3 separate regions of the Homo sapiens genome follow, and all the other regions are linked to region 3. Evidence: promoter capture Hi-C in human tissues and cell types (Jung and others, 2019). All regions are on one chromosome and are shown on one strand. Each heading gives the region's core, a stretch centred on a gene start or on the middle of the fragment in contact. The rest is flanking DNA. Distances are from core to core; before and after follow the strand shown. Region 1 overlaps PPFIA4 (PPFI scaffold protein A4). Region 2 overlaps ATP2B4 (ATPase plasma membrane Ca2+ transporting 4). Region 3 holds the start of FMOD (fibromodulin).

Region 1 (2,700 bases), core at 50-2,549, 280 kb after region 3:
TCTTAAACTCCTGGCCTCAAGCAATCCTCCCACCTTGACCTCCCAAAATGCTGAGCATACAGGCCTGAGCTACCACACCGAGCCATTTTTAACCATTTTAAATGAGGGATTCCGTATTGGGTCACACACTACTTCTCCCAACAGCTAAGCTCAATGACGGGGTCAGGAAATTAAGAAAGGTTAGAAAGCCATAGGGAGGTGTCCCTGCTACTATTTACAGAATTACTGCTATCCTCCAAAACTGAATGCATTAGAGATAGGAAATCAAAGAAAGAGAAAAGTCCATTTCTAGGTAGAAAATATTAAGCGTAGAGTTCCATAAGGACAGTCTGTGCCAGTATTGGGAACATAACATTTTTAGAAATGATCTGAAAGGAGAAGCACAGTAAATTTCAAGTATCCAAATGACACTGCTCCTCTGGGCAGTGAAAGGTGAGGAGGATAGGTGTAAATTTCAGAAGCGTCTCACAAAGAGAGGTGAGTGGGCAGCAAAGTGGCAGACGAGGCTTGCCCGAAGTGGGCAAGTGGAGAGAACGCACTTGGGGGAAAAATCCAGGCTCCTCTTGGAGAATGAAGGGATCTGTCCTATCTATTTTGACTGGTTGGGGTGGGGGCGGGGCGGGGGGGTCACTGCAGAATGCCTACAGGACACAATGGCCCTGTGCACTGCCACCACCCCCAAAAGGCCAACACACTGCCCAGAATTACGAGACAACACAGCCCTACCCTCATTCAAGCCAAAACGTGTCTGCTCCCAGAATAGCCTGTGCAGCTCTGGTGGCTGAATTTCAAAAGAGATCTGACAGCTGCAAACAGTCCAGACAAGGGCAGCTAAAACAATCAGGGGACAGAGGCGAGTCTATATGAGGAAAGCCTAAAAGAATTAAGAACACTCCGTCTGGAGAGACAAAGGCTTGGGCCCAGAGGCAATACAATCAGAGTTTATGAAATCATAAAAGGTGAGAACTAGTTAAATACAAATATCCTTACCAAACCTAAACCATCAAGAGGAGGTAGTTCCTTCCCCAGGGGCCTGACAGGGGCATTTTCAGGACAAATAAAATCAGGAAGTACTCTACACAACAAGCAGTACTTCTAGAATCTATTACCCACAGGAAGTTAGAAAGGCCAAAAATATAAATAGGTTCAAGAGAATTTAGATATATTCTTAGATGACAGCTCCATAAAAATGATGAAATGTAATTTCATGAGATGTTTAATCATTTGAGCTGTTGACAGAGAGCCAAAGCCCTGGTGTGGAGAGGCTCTGGGTTGTGTAATTTGGTATATTTAGCTTTTTTAAGGCTGGGGGCCCAGGAGCAGATCCCTAGGGTGGTAGACAAAGGTGATATGGGCTCTCTGGTCCCTAGGGGCCCTGGGGCTCATTCCCCTCTAAGAAAAGTCAGATCAGAGAAGCAGGATGAAAAGGAAGGCTCAGAGTCTCAGCTATGAAGTGGGGTTAGGAGGAGATAGAGGTACCCAGGGCAGGACGGGGATGCGCATTGTAAGAGCACACTGTGTGCCAGGCCCACGCTAGGTGTGCTCTGTATGTGAAGGCCATGTGTTCCCATGAGGGCTTGCTTATGCACAGCGATCACTTGGAGAATTGAGGACATTGCGATCCCCTCTGGCATAGGCCCTAGAAAAGCTCCCCACCCCCCAAGATACCTAAGCCTTTGTGTATGAGGGAAAGAAAGAGAGCAAGTGAGGGATACAGGGAGAGACTCAAGTTGACTGATTAAAAGGCTGCCCACCTGGGTGTTCTGTGTGGGGATCTGGAGGATCAGGGCCAGTGTGTTGTGGTCGAAGTTCTCGTCCAGGGCCAGCAAGGCTCCATGCACACCACTCTCATGCAGGTTTCCTGCGTAGTCCCGGAGCCCAATAGACTGGACCCAATGAACCACCTGGTCGTTGGTCCAGACTAACACATCTGGAGTGTGGGGGAAGAAAAGGGACGGAAGGAGATACTACGTTTCATCAAGGGCCCTCCAAGGACAGAAGCAGAGCTCCCTAAACCCAGAGCCGCAGTCCACCCTGCTCTCTGACCCCCACTCCATCCCTAAATTTCCATATCTTCTTTCTCTCCTCCCTGGCACCTGGGTGCCTGGGGAACCAACCCCCCACTCACTCCATCCCTGCCAGTTTACAGGACCCGGGGTCAGGCCAACAGGCTCCAAGCTTTCTCCCCAGAACCCTTGCACGGGTCATCCCCCTGACCCAAGCTGGAATGGCCTTCTTATTCTTTCCACCTTCAAGGTCTCCTCTAAGACTTGCATCTCCCATCCAGCCCCATCCAGATCAACAAGTTCCACAGGCACACCAGTCTATAACACCGTCCCAGAGGATTCACTGCATTTGTCCAGTTGGTGGCTGCTATCTGGTATGTGGGGTTGAGGGAGGGGAATTATAGACAACTTGGCATGGACTATGTCTCCTCCATCAGACTGGGAGCTCCCTAAGGTGAGGCTGCATCTTCCTTTTCAGACTGGAAGATTCCCTGAGACACAGAATGCCTCCCCTCCACTTGGCCCAAGGCAGGGACCAGCCAAGCAGGCTGCTCCCGAACCCTCTCCAAGCCTGACGAGCTTACCCTTGATCTCATGCTGGCTCTCCTCTCGCCTCTTCTCCAGCTCCTTCCGGTCATAATTCAGCCTCTTCAGACACATGATGCCATACTGAAGACTGGTTCTGCAGGCACAC
Region 2 (2,700 bases), core at 54-2,553, 300 kb before region 3:
TTTACAGCATCTTCAACAGGAGTAGATTTCATCTCAAGAAACCACTTTCTTTGCTCATTCCTAAAAAGCAACTCCTCATTTGTTCAAGTTTTATCATGAGATGGCAGCAATTCAGTCATATCCTCAGGTTCTACTTCTAATTCTAGTTCTCTTGCTATTTCCACCACATCTACAGTTATTTCCTCCACTGAAATCCTGAGCCCCTCAAAGTCAGCCATGAGGGTTGGAATCAACTTCTTCCAAACTCCTGTTAATGTTGATATTTTGACTTCCTCCATGAATCATGAATATCTTTTTCTTTCCTTTTTTTTTTTTTTTTTCCAGACGAGGTCTCACTCTGTCACCCAGGCTGGAGTGCAGTGGCACAATCATGGCTCACTGCACCCTCGACCTCTCAGGCCCAAACGATCCTCTCACTTCAGCCTCCTGAGTAGCTGAGAGCACAAGAGCACACCACCATGCCTGACTAACTTTTTCACTTTTTGTAGACAGGGTCCCCCTGTGTTGCCAGGCTGGTCTCAAACTCCTAGGCTCAAGTGATCCTCATGCCTCAGCCTCCCAAAATGCTATGATTACAAGCATGAGCCACCATTCCCAGCCCTTGAATGTTCTTAATGGCCTCTAGAATGGTGGATTCTTTCCAGAGGTTTTCAATTCACTTTGCCCAGATCCATCAGAGGAATCATTGTCTATGGCAGCTATAGCTTTACAAAATACATTTCTTAAATGATAAGACTTGAAAGTCAAATTTGTTCCTTGTTCCATGAGCTGCAGAATAGATTTTGTGTTAGCAAGCATGAAAACAACATTCATCTCCTTGTATGTCTCCATCAGAGATCCTGGGTGACCAGGTACATTGTCAATGAGCAGTAGTATTTTGAAAGGAGTAGGTTTCAACAGTGGGCTTAAAATATTTGGTAAACTGGCCGGGCACGGTGGCTCACACCTGTAATCCCAACACTTTGGGAGGCCGAGGTGGGCAGATCACCTGAGGTCAGGAGTTCGAGACCAGCCTGACCAATATGATGCAACCCTGTCTTTACTAAAAACACAAAAATTAGCCAGGCATGGGGGCATGCGCCTGTAATCCCAGCTACTCGGGAGGCTGAGACAGGAGAATTGCTTGAACACGGGAGGCAGACATAGCAGTGAGCTGAGATCGCACAATTGCACTCCAGCCTGGGCAACAAGAGCGAAACTCCATCTCAAAAAAAAAAAAAAATATATATATATATATATATATATATTTGGCAAACCATGCTGTAAATAGATGAGCTGTCATCCAAGCTTTGTTGTTTCTTTGATAGATCACAGGCAGAATAGATTTAGCATAATTATTAAAGGCCCTAGAAGCCTGGCGTGGTGGCTCACGCCTGTAATCCCAACACTTTGTGAGGCCAAGGAGGGCGGGTCACTTGAGGTCAGGAGTTTGAGACCAACCTGGCCAATATGGTGAAACCCCGTCTCTACTAAAAATATAAAAGTTAGCAGGGCGTGGTGGCGGGTGCCTGTAATCCCAGCTACTCAGGAGGCTAAGGCAGAAGAATCACTTGAACCTTGAGGGGTGGAAAATTCATAAAGACCCTAGGATTTTCAGAATGGTAAACATTGACTTTAACTTGAAGTCACCAGCTGCCCTGGCCCCTAATGAGAAAGTCAGCCTGTTCTTTGAAACTTTGAAGCCAGGCATTGACTTCTCCTTTCTAGCTATGAAAGTCGTAGATGGCATCTTTTTCCAAGAGAAGACTGTTTTGCCTACATTAAAATCTGTTGTTTAGCATAGCCACTGTCACCAATTATCTTAGCTAGATCTTCCGACTAACTTGCTGTGGTTTCTATGTCAGCACTTGCTGCTTCACCTTTACGTTGTGGAGACAGCTTCTCTCGTTAAACCTCAAGAACCAAGCTCTGCTAGCTTCTAACTTTTCTTCTGCAGCTTCCTCCCCTCTGTCAACCTTCACAACATTGAAGAGATTTAGGATCTTGCCTTGGATTAGGATTCAACTTAAGGGAATGTTGTGGCTGGTTTGATCTTCTAATCAGACCACTTGAACTTCCTTCCTGTCAGCAAATAAAGCTGTTTTGCTTTTTTATCATTTGTGTGTTAACTGGAGTAGCACTTTTAATTTCCTTCAAGAACATTTTCCTTTATTCACAGCTTGGCTAACTGGTACAAGAGGCCTAGCTTTGGGCCTATCTCAGCTTTCAACACGACTTCCTCAGTAGGCCTAATCATTTCTAGCTTTTGATTTCTAGTGAGAGACCTGTGACTCTTTCTTTCACATGAACACTTAGAGGCCATTGTAGGGTTATTAACTGGCCTACTTTCAATATTGTTGTGTCTTAGGGAATAGGGAATCCCCAGGAGAAAGAGAGAGATGAAGAACAGCTCGTCAGTGAGGCAGTCAGAACATACACATTTGTTGATTGTTTGCTGCCTTATATGGGCACCATTTGTAGCACCCCAAAACAATTCTATTAGTAACACCAAAAAATCACTGATCACAAATCATCATAACACATATAATAATAATGAAAAACTTTGAAACATCATGAGAATTACCAAGATGTGACACAGAGACATGAAATGAGCACATGCTGATAGAAAAATGGCGTCAACAGACTTGCTCAACACAGGGTTGCCGCAAACCTTCAATTTATTTAATAATAAAATAAAAAGGCAGTGTCTGAAGTACAATA
Region 3 (2,700 bases), core at 3-2,502:
TGTAATCCCAGCACTTTGGGGCACTGAGGTGGGTGGATCACCTGTGTTTAGGAGTTCAAGACCAGCCTGACCAATATGATGAAACCCTGTCTCTACTAAAAATACAAAAAATTAGCTGGGCGTGGTGGCGTGTGCCTGTAGTCCCAGCTACCCAGGAGGCTGAGGCAGGAGAACGGCTTGAACCTGGGAGGCGGAGGTTGCAGAAAGCAGAGATTGTGCCACTGCACTCCAGCCTGGGCGACACAGCGAGACTCCTTTTCGATCTCCTGACCTCATGATCCTCCTGCCTCGGCCTCCCAAAGTGCTGGGATTACAGGCATGAGCCACCACGCCCAGCTGAGACTCCTTCTCAAACAAACAAACAACAACAACAACAACAAAAACATTTAGAATAAAAACCAAATCACTTCCATCGCCCAAAAGTCCTTTCATGGTACAGCTCCTGCCCAGCTTTCTGATCTTGTCTTTCCCTGGCTGAGGAATTCTATGGCTGTGAAATGGGTAGGACACAGTGAACCTCAGCTATGTGCCAGGTCAGGAGCCTCCCACACATCACCTGATACAGTCCTTGCTACAACCCAGCAAGGTAAGTGTTATTAACTCTGAATTTGTTGTGAGCATTAAGTGGAAGTGGATGATGCTAGTGCATAAGCAGTGATCAGCAAATGCTGGAGTCCCTGCCTTTCCTTTTGTTCCAGTGGTGGAGGTGGGCAGGACCTGTAGCCTAGAAAAGTCTACACTGCTTAGGGATAGAACTGGAACCAGAGCCGGCTGTCCCTTGTCATTCATGCTCCCTTATCCACTAGCCTGATGACCTGTCTATAGGGGGAGCTGAGAAGCGCGAGTTCTCGCTCTCTGGAGGGACATGTGGGTTGCTGAAGGAGTTAAGATGTCTCTTACCAAACCCTGGCCCTCCCCATCCCTGCATCTGCCTTTGTGGCTTTAATGAGAAATCCAGGCGCTTCATAAGAGACTGTACAAATAACTTCTAGGGCGCCACTAACTCATTCAGCAGAAAGGGACCCAGGGCTGCCAATGTTTCAGGGAAGATAAGTGAGTGGAAAAAAGGTGGTTTTTATAGCGTCAGGCGGACCGAAGGATTTGCGTGGTTGAGCGTGAACTCCGCCCCTGCAGCAGAGCTGAAAAAAACCAGGATCCGGGTTCCTCAGCCCCTTTTCACAATATTTGATTAGGAATTTGGGGCGGGACCCTGGTCTGGCACAGGCACGCACACTCTCAGTAGACTCTTTCACTCCTCTCTCTCTTCCTCTCTCACACGTTCTCCAACCCAAGGAGGCCAGACAGAGGGACGTGGTCACTCTCTGAAAAGTTCAACTTGAGGTAAGTATAGTCGTTTTACTTCGGGTTTGTCCCTAGCAGTTCCTTAAAAGAAATAAAGGAAAAGTGGTAGGGGATAGGGGAGATGGGGAGGCAGGGAGGGTTCATTCCTCCTTCTCCACATCTGGGCCATGACCCCAGGGATGCTGGAGAGTGGCAGAGAGGGTGTATAAGGGAGGGGTTCCAGCCCTGTACCTTTCTCTTACAGTTCCTTTATGGGTGCTGAGGGGACCTCCAATTCTCAGGCATGAAAAAGTGAAGGACCCTCTGTCTAGGGAAGCTTCTTCCCTGCTACTCATAAATCCCATCATGCTGGGAGTGTGGGCATTTTGAAGGGTATTCCAAGACCTGGATGTCCCTGCAATCTCTCTTATAGAGGGGTTTGGTACATAAATGCTATTATGGGAGAGGGGGAAACTTTTGTGTAGAATGTGTGTGTGTGTGTGTGTGTGTGTGTGTTTGGAGTGGAAAGGAGAGAATAAAAAGAAGCATTGAGAACTGGCCATGTCCAGGGAGCTGTGGATTGGGGTGGGGATGCAATCCAGGTGAGGGGATGGCCTCTGGCTTGACCTTCTCCACTGATAGGAGGGAGAGATCTTTCTCTAGAGTGGAGAAATGAAAGAACAGCAGTAGCTCCTGAGTAAACTTCCCCCAGCTGATAGTGTGGCAGTCCTGGAAACTTTCGACCTTACAGAAACTCTGAGCACAGGAGGGCCTCTAGCATTATGGGAAACAGTGTAAGACTATGCAACCCTGAAGCAACATTGCTAAGAGATGGGATGGGGTAAGGAGAGGCATAAGCTCCCCATCAAACCCTTTCAGCACCCATGGCTCTAAGAAGAGGCTGAAGTGGGCAGGGTGCACAGCCCCTAGAAAGCTGAGTCTGAAGGGGAAGGTGGCTCTTGTCTGCCAAGGTGCCCAGTCTGAAAGAAGGAGAAACGGAGACAGAGGCTCACTGTGCCAGCCCTCCAGACAGCCACCTTGGTCCTGCAACAGCCCAGGGCTGTGCATGGAAAAATGCTCTGTTGGCAGTGGGCCGCTCCATTCGTCTTCTCTCCTGGCCAGAGCCAGGAACCAGCCAGCTTGCCCAGGCAGTGGGCAGTTGGGTCAGCTTCTCCAAAACACTGTGGCTCTTTGTCTGAGGCCTGAGGCTGCCTGTGGATGAGCCAGGGTGCCTGCTCCTCTGCAACCTAGGAACTGATGGGATGAAGTGGGCCCAAGGAAACTGTTTTGAGGGGACAGAGAGGTCTGGGATGGATGGTGGTCAGGAGGTAACTCTGTTGAGTGTCATAGTTGGGGTCTTTCCCATCAGTTCACTGGATCTGATGATGTTGGCTTTTATACTCCTTTCTTTCTTCTGTT

The links. Contacts are between HindIII fragments. The study calls those that stand out against the background at their distance.
Region 1: a fragment that was not itself captured here is called in contact with the fragment with the promoter of FMOD in region 3 in 2 of the 25 tissues and cell types used here (heart right atrium and mesenchymal stem cells).
Region 2: a contact is called between a fragment that was not itself captured here and the fragment with the promoter of FMOD in region 3, in 1 of the 25 tissues and cell types used here (H1 embryonic stem cells).

The regions. Positions count from the first base shown.
Region 1 is chr1:203,067,683-203,070,382 of GRCh38, reverse strand. It overlaps PPFIA4 (PPFI scaffold protein A4), which reads right to left. Exons shown (of 30, transcript NM_001304331.2): 26 at 2,591-2,688; 27 at 1,755-1,930. LOC105371687 (a long non-coding RNA gene) reads left to right here and starts at 2,695. Exons shown (of 2, transcript XR_922432.2): 1 at 2,695-2,700. RefSeq lists an enhancer at 867-916. The HindIII fragment of the contact is 8,794 bases long and covers 1-2,700 here.
Region 2 is chr1:203,652,508-203,655,207 of GRCh38, reverse strand. All of the region lies in intron 1 of ATP2B4 (ATPase plasma membrane Ca2+ transporting 4), which reads right to left. Among named protein-coding and RNA genes, the nearest start is that of ATP2B4, 27 kb to the right of the region's middle. The HindIII fragment of the contact is 3,712 bases long and covers 1-2,700 here.
Region 3 is chr1:203,349,674-203,352,373 of GRCh38, reverse strand. It overlaps FMOD (fibromodulin), which reads left to right and starts at 1,252. Exons shown (of 3, transcript NM_002023.5): 1 at 1,252-1,341. The HindIII fragment of the contact is 7,092 bases long and covers 1-2,700 here.